2 separate regions of the Homo sapiens genome follow, and region 2 is linked to region 1. The links are contacts of gene promoters, found by promoter capture Hi-C in blood cells and fetal thymus (Javierre and others, 2016). All regions are on one chromosome and are shown on one strand. The core of a region is centred on a gene start or on the middle of the fragment in contact, and the rest is flanking DNA. Distances in the headings are between cores, read along the strand shown. Region 1 holds the start of SEMA4D (semaphorin 4D). Region 2 has its middle 18 kb from the start of SYK.

Region 1 (4,664 bases), core at 633-3,132:
TGCTTCTCAGGAGGTGGGCCCCCTCCCATGGAGTCCCTCCCTTGTGCTGTGCTGCAAGACCTTGGGCTGGCATGGCAGCTGGGGCTCTGCATCCCCACGGTGGCCTTTTGCCTGTCTGCACTCTGAAATACAGCCACTGAGTTCCACCGTCTACCAACTCCTAAGCGGCCCACCCTCCTGGGACCCCAGGGCTGCTCCTGGCACCAGTGATGTGTTTCTATTTCTTTGTTTGACTCGCTGAGTGTACCACGTACACTCTTCTCAGTCTGAAGGTCTGGCCTTATGGGAGGGCAGTCTTTGCTCACAGAAACAGGCCAGTGCATCCCTCATCTTCCCACCCCAGCCTCCCTGGTGGGTATGCTGAGCCCGCCTGCTTTCTTCTTCTGGCTGACGACTACCAAGACATGATATACGCAGACACCAACTGTCAAAATGACAATCAGGGCATTATCATCTCTACCAGAATCCTGCCCCTGCACTGGCCAGAGCTGCCTGTTTCTGGGACACAGTAAACATTCCCAAATAACCTCGCCTGGGCAGCCAGCAGGCAGGCCCCAGGCCTAGGACACATATGAGGTGACAGGCCACTGGTGTCACGTCACCCCCAGGAAAGGAAACTTCCGTTCCGTGGCGCCTGGTGGATTTGAAAAGACTCAGAACAGCAGGGTGAGATGCTTGGCCCCAGGCCCCACGTCCAGCTTGGCCTTCGGGGGCCTGGCCACCCACGAGCCTGGGATGTGCTCAACACAGAGTGAGGTTTTCAAAACAAAAGCAAAGCAACTTCATGTGGAAAACCTTCCGGAAAGCAGGACCCAGCCCTCGACACCAGGCCTCATTTGACGCAAACTGCCCACTTACAGACTCCCATTCACCCACTCTCCCACCTACCCCCCAAAATACTAAGCCAGAAAATAGAGGACAACCACGAGTTCAACTCTCCTTTACACGTTTTTACTGGCATAACCCCAGTAGAGCCAGCCCCTTGCAGCTCACTAGGCGGCTGCAACAGGTGCAGCCCAAGCTAAGGCTTGTGGTTCTCCTGGGCTGTTCTAGAATAATGCAACCAAAACCCGAAAGGAAACCGAGGCCTGCAGCACTCACTGCCAAGGCGGCGACCTGACCACTGCGGCCCAACCTGCCCCACCTGTCTGAGTGCGCGGCGCCGGGTCCAGTGCACAGGGTCCGCGGCCTCCGCGACCAAAATAGAAGCCCGCGGGGGCCCGGCCAGAGCCCGGCTGGCCGGAGTGGGGCCTGACCTGGCGGGGCCGGACTGGGCGGGCCGGGGCGCGACGGGGCCTGGCCGAGCGCACCGCCCCCTCCCTGGCCCGGGTATGCAGCGCGCCCCCGCTCCCCCGCGCCCAGAGGAGCCACCTGCGCGCAGGGACTGGGGAGGCAACCGGGAAGGGGAGAAGGCCGGGGAGGGATAGCAGAGAGGTCCAGGGGGTCGGAGGGGTCCGGGTAGGTGTCTCTGGGAGGCGTCCCAGGAGGGGCCCCGGGGGGATCCAGGAAGGAGTCCAGGGGTCCGGGGATCCCAGAAGGAGGCTCCTGCAGGGGTTCGGGGAGGGCCCCGAGGGTCCGGTGAGGAGCCTAGGGGTGTGGAGTGGGGGCTCCGCGGAGGGTCCAGGCCGCCCCCAGCGCACCTGCCCGGCCCCGCGCGCCCTCCCTCCCGCGCCAGCCCGGCCGCTTACCTGCAGCGCGCGTCCTGCCCGCGGCGGCTCCCGGCCGGGCGAGTTCGGGCGCCAGGAATGGCGGCGGCGGCGGCGGCGGCAGCGGCGGGAGGCGGCCGGGCCGGGGAGGGGGTGGCGGGGAGGCCCGGCGGCGGCAGCGGCGGCTGGGATGCTGCGGCGCGCGAGAGCGCTGAGGCCGGCGCGGGGACGGAGTGCGCGGGGCGGGCGCGCAGGCCCCTCCTCCGCTCCCCCTCCCTTCCCGCCTCCTCCCCTTTCCCTTCCCCTTCCTCTCCCCCTTCTTCTCTTCCCTCCTATGGCCCCGCCCCTTTCTTCCTCCTTCCTCCTCCCTCCTCCTCGCCCCTGCTCACCTCCCTCCTTTCCCTCCCCCAACCTTTCTTTTCCTCCCTTCTCTTTTTCCTCCTCTTTCTTCACCTTCGCAACACTCTTCCACCTCTCTCCCCTTCTCCCCACTTTTGCTCCCCACTCCTTCCTCCTCACCTCCCATCTCTCTTGCCTCCCCGCCAGGCCCAGAGGGTTGTCCCTCAGCCCTGGGTTGGTCTCTGCTGAGTCAAGCACCCGTTCCCAGGACCAAGAGGTGCCCTGTCACCCTCTTCCTCACCAGCTCTCAATAGACAAGCTTGCCCCTTCTGGGGTCCTGGATGAACCCCACCCTTTCCAGGCCTCCCCCAAATCCCCCAGTTTTTTTTCACCCCCAGACCCTGGGCCAGCTCTTCTGAGAACCTGACCTGCAGTGTGCGTGAGGCACGTGGCACCCAGAACACTTGGCTGCTGACTTTGGGCAAGAATATTTCACACCAGGCTGCTCCCATTCCCCAGGGGAGGGGCTGGCACCACCTGGAGTCTTGGTTTCCCTGAACCCCCGTGCTAGCCTTTTGCCAAACGTTCATCATTTTCCACTCTGTATGGCAAATGGTCCTCCTGTGAGGCTGCTGGTGAGACTTGTTTGTGACTAGCCCATGGGTTTGGGGATCTGGGGGCCCTCAGAGATGGTGCTGCTCCATCCAGACCTCTTCCCTCTGCCCCCAGGAGAGGTGACAGGGCTCGCACAGTGACTGGCCAGGCTGGGAGGCCTATTGAGGAACACAGTCCTGAGAAGGGGACACAGTTTCTTACGGAACCAGCTAAGATTTCCCCTAAATGTGAGGAGTTGGGGAGCCCCTCTCCAGGCCAGGTGATACCTCCCTGGACTACAGACTGCTGTTGAGGGGCAGGGGCCCTGAGGCTGTTTTCCTGCTGAGCACTGGCTCTGAGAGCCAGAGTTTACAAATGAAGCCAGTCCCAGGCCCAACAGTCACAGAGTTAAAGGCCCAACAGTCTCAGAGTTCCGTTCTAGGGCCTCCTGTGGTTTCTGTGGTTCAGTGCCGGAGCTCTGAGAATAGGGCTTCGGCCCAGCAAAGGCTAAGATGGCAAAGCTGGTGTCAAGCAGGGTGGGGTGGAGCACGCACCCCCTCCTCCCTCTACGGCATGGCAGCCACCACCCTCTTGCTGAAGAATCCAGACCTGGAATCTGATAGACTCCCTTGACTCACAGCTCTGCAGTTTCCAAATAACCTCAGGCCTCAGCAAACCTCTGTACCCTGCAACATGAGGACAGTGTGGTCGTCCTGGAGGGTTTGGGGAGCACGGAGAGAGAATGGCAGGTAAAGCCCACTGCACCGTGTGCTCGGGTTCAGTGCTGGTGACTATTACAGGAAAAACTAGAGAAGTCTTTTCCAAGCTCTTTTCCAATTGTAGGGGTCCATGAATCCATGTTCCACATCCCATTTGGATTGAAACATAATGGGAACGGATTAGGACAGAACTGGTTTAACAGCATTCTATACCCAAGGAGGGATGCACGCTTAGGATCTACACATGCAAGCATTGCACTGATTGGGGTGGGGTGGGGGGACTCTCTTTTATTCCTCACTAGTCAGACACATCTAGAATACCATGCCCTTGCTTGGTGTCTAAGGCAGCCAGCAGTATCCCGTGGGAGGGGAGTTGACCCACCGGGAGTCTTCAGCCTAGAAAATCAATGTGTGGAGCACAAGACAGAAGAACCCCAATATGTGCAAAACTGTCCCGGGAAGAAGGATTACTCTGTGGTGTTATGAAGGGCAGAATGAGGACAGATGGGTGGAAATTAGATGAGAAAGTGGATTCCTGCCTATCGTGGGCGCTTTCTGACAGACCTCACTGTGGAAGAGCCGGCTGCCCCTACAGGAGCGTGCCCTTCACAGCCAGCGTCTAGACAGGCCTGGGGCCACCTTGGGAACACACTGCAGGGAGGGGACCAGCAGCAGAGGGGTATGCTTCTCAACAACTGCTGAATTCTCTCCTGGCTTTTAGACCCACATGCTCAGAATCTAATAGAGGGCAGCCCAGGGCAAAGAAGAGACTTTGCATGGCTGTCCTGGGGCCCACACTTCTGGCATCATGACCTTCCAGAATACTGTCCTCTCTAGCCTGTTTCCTAATGCATACAGAAGAACATGAGAGAATTCAGTAAAAACTCCAAAAAGCTTTCCGCAATGCCCAGGCTGCGAACACAAGGGCTTCTTTGCACCGTGCTTATATAAAATTGCCCCCAAACATGTTTATTGCATTCATGAAGGAGACAGGACTCTTAGTTGTAAGTGATAGAACTTCAGCCCATACTATTGGCTCACTTGCATCCAAAGATGCCCCAAGTACCATTAGAACCGGGACTTGGATGCCATTATTAGGTCTTCCTCTTCCCTCCTCTCTGACCTTCTTCCCTGTTCCCTTCTCTCAGCATGATTGCCTATGTCTCCCAAAGTGACCAAGCTTGCCTTTTTATTCTTGTTTCACACTCTGTCGTGGGACATTTCAAACATAGATATAAAAGTAGCAGGCTGGGTGCAGTGGCTCACGCCTGTAATCCCAACACTTTGGGAGGCTGAGGCAGGCGGATCACCTGAGGTCAGGAGTTCGAGACCAGCCTTGCCAACATGGTGAAACCCCGTCTCTACT
Region 2 (4,664 bases), core at 943-3,442, 1.3 Mb after region 1:
GATTCACAGGCTTTGTCAAATTATCTCTAGTCTTATGAATATATGATTCTAATTTTCTCAGAAGTAAAACTACATGAGATAAATAACATTAGTAAACTTGCTAATCAAAACAGAATCTGTGTGTCAGAACAGAAAAAGGAAACTATTTCATTAGGGCAACAACTAAAAACATGAAGAAAATTATAAGCTGGTACTTTTTAGAGGATTATTGTAGGAAGAGATGTAATTCGATCTGCACTCTAAAACAAGTCGGGGCTGGAATTCAGTAACGGGTGTTACAGTTTTCCCTTGAAACAATTTTTCTCTGATTCTCTAGCCCTCCTTTTCTACTAAAGAGAAATTATAGTAAGACCAATTTGTGTGCAGAATAAGTTTTTGGCTTATTACACTTGGCTTGATTATTCACATAAAGCGCAGCAGGAATTACTTGGTTTGAAATGCTTGTTCTTTGGTGCCATAAAGAAATAGCACTTGAACATAAATTTAATTTATTTAGTAAGGCCACTTTTACTTCCTGCAGAAAGGGTACACTCGCCAGCAGTTTTGCCATGAGAGTACACTGAACAAAGGAGACAGGGTCATTTATAACCTGACGTGTCCACCCTACTGTTGTGTCCAGTTTCCATTGGCTGGAACAAGAGCTCGCATTCTGTATTTGTCCTGATTGGCTAGCAACTTAGAACTTTTTAAAAGAGGCAAAGGTAGAGGGGAACAAAGGAAGGAGGAAGTAACTAGTGGAAGGCTGAGAAAGGTAAAAACACTTTTAAATAAGGAAGAGGAACAGGCTATGACCTAATGCTTGCTTGGACCAGTATAAGCATGCCAGGGCAAATATTTAGGCTAAATTGTGGGAGCTAGGAACATAAATTGTATATTGATTTTTTTATTATGGCTAGCAGATATTTAAGAATGTTAGCACAGGTCTTTGAATAAATTTTGCTTCTAAGAGAAGTTACTATTTATTCCTAATTAGACGGGGAGGAAAGTCTTTGAAGAGGAACCTCTACTTTACTTTTTACAGTTGGCCATAGAGACTCTTTTCAAGTTGACTTTGCTGGAGCTTCACCTAATAATGTTATTCTAGTCAAAGCCTTGGTATAATAACCAGCACCTGCAATTGTGTCCTGTTTCAAAAGAAAGGGCTCTTATTAAACATGCCTTTACATATCACATATTTATCAGTTTACTGTTGATTGCCTATCTGCCTGCTAAACTGTTTGCTTCTGCAAAATAGAGACCTTGCCTGTCCTGCACCCCCAGAGCTTAGGCCTGCATAATGCTCAGTAGACATTGCATATATAATAGATGTTGGAAGAAGATGCAGTTGGCAGAGAGATGTAAGGACAATTTCTCATTGTTTTGTCAACATAAAGTATGTATGTTTTATATTGGAAAGCTGAGATCTTGAAAAAACTGTATACAAAAATTTTTGCAGGTATGTCTCTGTTTCTCCATATTGAGCTTCCACTTTTGATGATTGTAGAAATGTGCTGTAGAATGGATTAGACCATGTTTTTTTGTTTGTTTGTTTGTTTGTTTTGAGATGGAGTTTCGCTCTTGTTGCCCAGGCTAGCGTGCAATGGCACAGTCTCCACTCACCACAACCTCCACCTCCTGGGTTCAAGCGATTCTCCTGCCTCAGCCTCCCGAGTAGCTGGGATTACAGATATGTACCACCACACCCGGCTAATTTTGTATTTTTAGTAGAGACGAGATTTCTCTATGTTGGTCAGGCTGGTCTCAAACTCTTGACCTCAGGTGATCTGCCCACCTCAGCCTCCCAAAGTGCTGAGATTACAGGTGTGAGCCACTGCACCCAGCCAATTACACAGTGTTTTAAAGACAAATAAATATGTGAATTTTGTATTAAAGTTCAGCTGCTCTTCACCTAAGAAATATTCATCAAGTAAGAAGTATCTGGCTTGGGTAATTGTTAACTAAAGAATCATGAGATTCATAAATTTGGAGAGGAGAGTGTTATTTCTTATAAAGGCTTGCATCCAGCAGGCTGCCCACTGTGCAGGCTGGGAAGCATAGCTTCTGGTAGAAACCAAAAGCAGGCACTTTGAAAGAGGGAAAGGTGAGACAGAAATTTGGGCTGAATGGGCTAGCTAAGTATACATATTCAATAGTTATAGGAAGGGCTGAGAATAATTATGAAGGGGGTGCACACATTCATAGCAAGCAAACATCCATGTTACATTCATCTCATATTCATTTGGGGTGAAGACTTACATTTAATTGCATTATAATTTCACTCTGTATGTCACAAAGTGAAAGCAAGGACACAGGGGCATGTTGTCTGCAGCCTGTGAATACCTGCCAGAGCCAGTCTACGGCCAGTGGTCTTTTATCAGGAAGGAATGCCAGTCAGTTGTTGTGTAAATCAGAGGTGAAGCGAGTCTTTCAAAAGAGCTGGTTTCTGTCTGTTAGAGAAGGAAGATTGATGGCAGTAAGGGAGGTGGCATAACAAGGCGTGTCCCACCTCCTGTGTGCCTGGCATGGCTGGCAACTCAGTTTTTAAGGCTTCTCTGAGGCTCCTTGGACAAAGAGGGAGTCCATTCAGTTAGTTAGGGGACTTAGAATTTTATTTTTATTTCTCAGAATTTATCTAGGAAAGTTAGATGGTAGATCGTAAAGGTGCAGAATGTCATGTTAATTTGGCTTGCTATCGAGATGTATCAGAGTACAACAATAACAGTGTTATCAGCTGTATACTAAAAACATCCTTGGTCAGCAATATCTCAGACATTTTCCAAGGACAAAAGTATTAAATTTCATAAAGAAATAGCACGCTTTCAAATAACACTCCCAGGGCTTGACACGTGTATAAGAAAATCTAATTCCCAGGCACATTTCCCAGTAAGGCCATGAAAATAGCCGCGGAATGTGAAATATACACGTGACTGCCATCCTAATTTGGATGTTTCTTTAACACCCACAAGAAGGATGATAACTTCTCTCCCCCTAGCTCCTATTACGCCACTCCAATATGCACCCTGGACCTCAAAGATCATTTCTCTTTCCTGCATCCAGATAAAAGGTCACGATTCCTGGTGCCTGGTGTGCTCTGGACCACAGTGTATTTCCCAAGGTAGTCACGACCCCTTTAATGGACCACAGTGTATTTCCCAAGGTAGTCACGACCCCTTTAATGGCAGACTCTGCCTGCAGACTGCTGGTGCTGAGAGGGTGCTGGTGCTTGTGCACATAGCAAGAAGTGAAATAGAAATGACTGAGTTTGTTTTGTGCAGCATCACCACTGTTCTCGTAAAGAATGAACTATATAAGCACATAAGAACTACAAAGTGCAAATTGTGTAATTTTGGTGATTCCGCATACGAGTCCAATGTTTTTATGTTTACATTTAAAACTGGCATAACAAATTCTATGTAAAGATAAATGGTAAAGTCCGTATTAATAATTTATAATTTCTATTTTTATTTAGTTAGAATGACATTCAATAGCAAATTTAAAAAAACACTGACATCTTGAAAGAGACAACAGAAGAGAAAAAAGGTTTTATATTTTAATACCTTTAATGGCCATTTTATTTTGCTTTTTGAACCAGGATCCATTTTTTATTTTGTACTGGGCCCCACAGATTATGAAGTTGGCCCTAGGCACAACCTCACACCACTACCTGTTCTGGTTAGCTATTACTAGGTAAGCTATGTAACATATTACCCCAAAACCTGGTGCCTTGAAACAACAATCATTCTTAAATATCTCACGATTTTGTGACTCAGAAGCTCAGGCGGAGCTCAGCTAGGTGATTCTTCTGCTTCACATGGCATTAACTAGGCACTCAGCTGGCTTTCAGGCTGTTAACACAGCCTTGGCAAAGATTGGGGAAGACTGGGCTCAGCTTTGCACCTCCAACTCTGCCCCACCCTTTGGCCTCTCCAGCAATCTTTGGAGTTCTTACATGGCAGTTCAGGGTTCCAAGAGACCAAGACCTAAGCTGTCCATCCTCTAAAAGGCTAGGCTTAAAATAAAAATGCCGTCACTTCTGCCACACTCTCTTGGTCAAAGCAGTAATAGGGCAGCCCAGATGCAAGAGGGAGAGTCTATTACACATCAGGAAACCAAGGCCCAGAGAGGCTCAGTAACTTGCACAAAGTCACACAGCTAGTAGGTTATAAACTTGGGAGTTGAACCAAATCTGGCTCCACGGTCAGTGCTGTAGGCCACTTTGCCATGCTGGTAATAGTAGTCTCCAAACACCTAAACTGTGTGACAATAAAGGACAAAGTCTTAACTTCAGAAAGCAGCTTTAACCCACACACACAAAGAGAGAGAGAGAGATGTCTTAGGAAGTAAAACGTGTGAAAGAACTTTATAAATATTGGAGTTCTCCAAAACTGTAACTTAGAGATTCTAAAACCTCTTCTATCCTAGAGACAGGACCCCGGAGCAAAATTGCTGGATGTACCTCTGCCCCCAGGGATGGAGCAAACCAGTCCCAGAGCAAAGCTGACATCTGGAGGGGACTTGTGCACCAGTGATGATGCACACACTGAGATGCTGAGTGCTATCCATCCCACTCTCAAAATAGAAGCGTGAATCCCCCAACATGGTGCCAATCAATGATTGGTGGGTTTGAGTTATTCTCAAAACTGAATCAGAGAATCTGTTGTCTATGAATCCATACACATACGTAT

The links. The method cuts DNA at HindIII sites, captures the fragments that hold promoters and counts their contacts. A CHiCAGO score of 5 or more calls a contact.
Region 2: a contact is called between a fragment that was not itself captured here and the fragment with the promoter of SEMA4D in region 1, in 1 of 17 cell types (total B cells). The highest score is 6.6, in total B cells.

What each region holds. Positions count from the first base shown.
Region 1 is chr9:89,496,231-89,500,894 of GRCh38, forward strand. It overlaps SEMA4D (semaphorin 4D), which reads right to left and starts at 1,883. Exons shown (of 16, transcript NM_001371194.2): 1 at 1,689-1,883. RefSeq lists silencers at 1,203-1,352, 1,783-1,972. The HindIII fragment of the contact is 2,547 bases long and covers 1-2,302 here.
Region 2 is chr9:90,781,361-90,786,024 of GRCh38, forward strand. No RefSeq gene overlaps it. Among named protein-coding and RNA genes, the nearest start is that of SYK, 18 kb to the right of the region's middle. The HindIII fragment of the contact is 5,045 bases long and covers 1-4,664 here.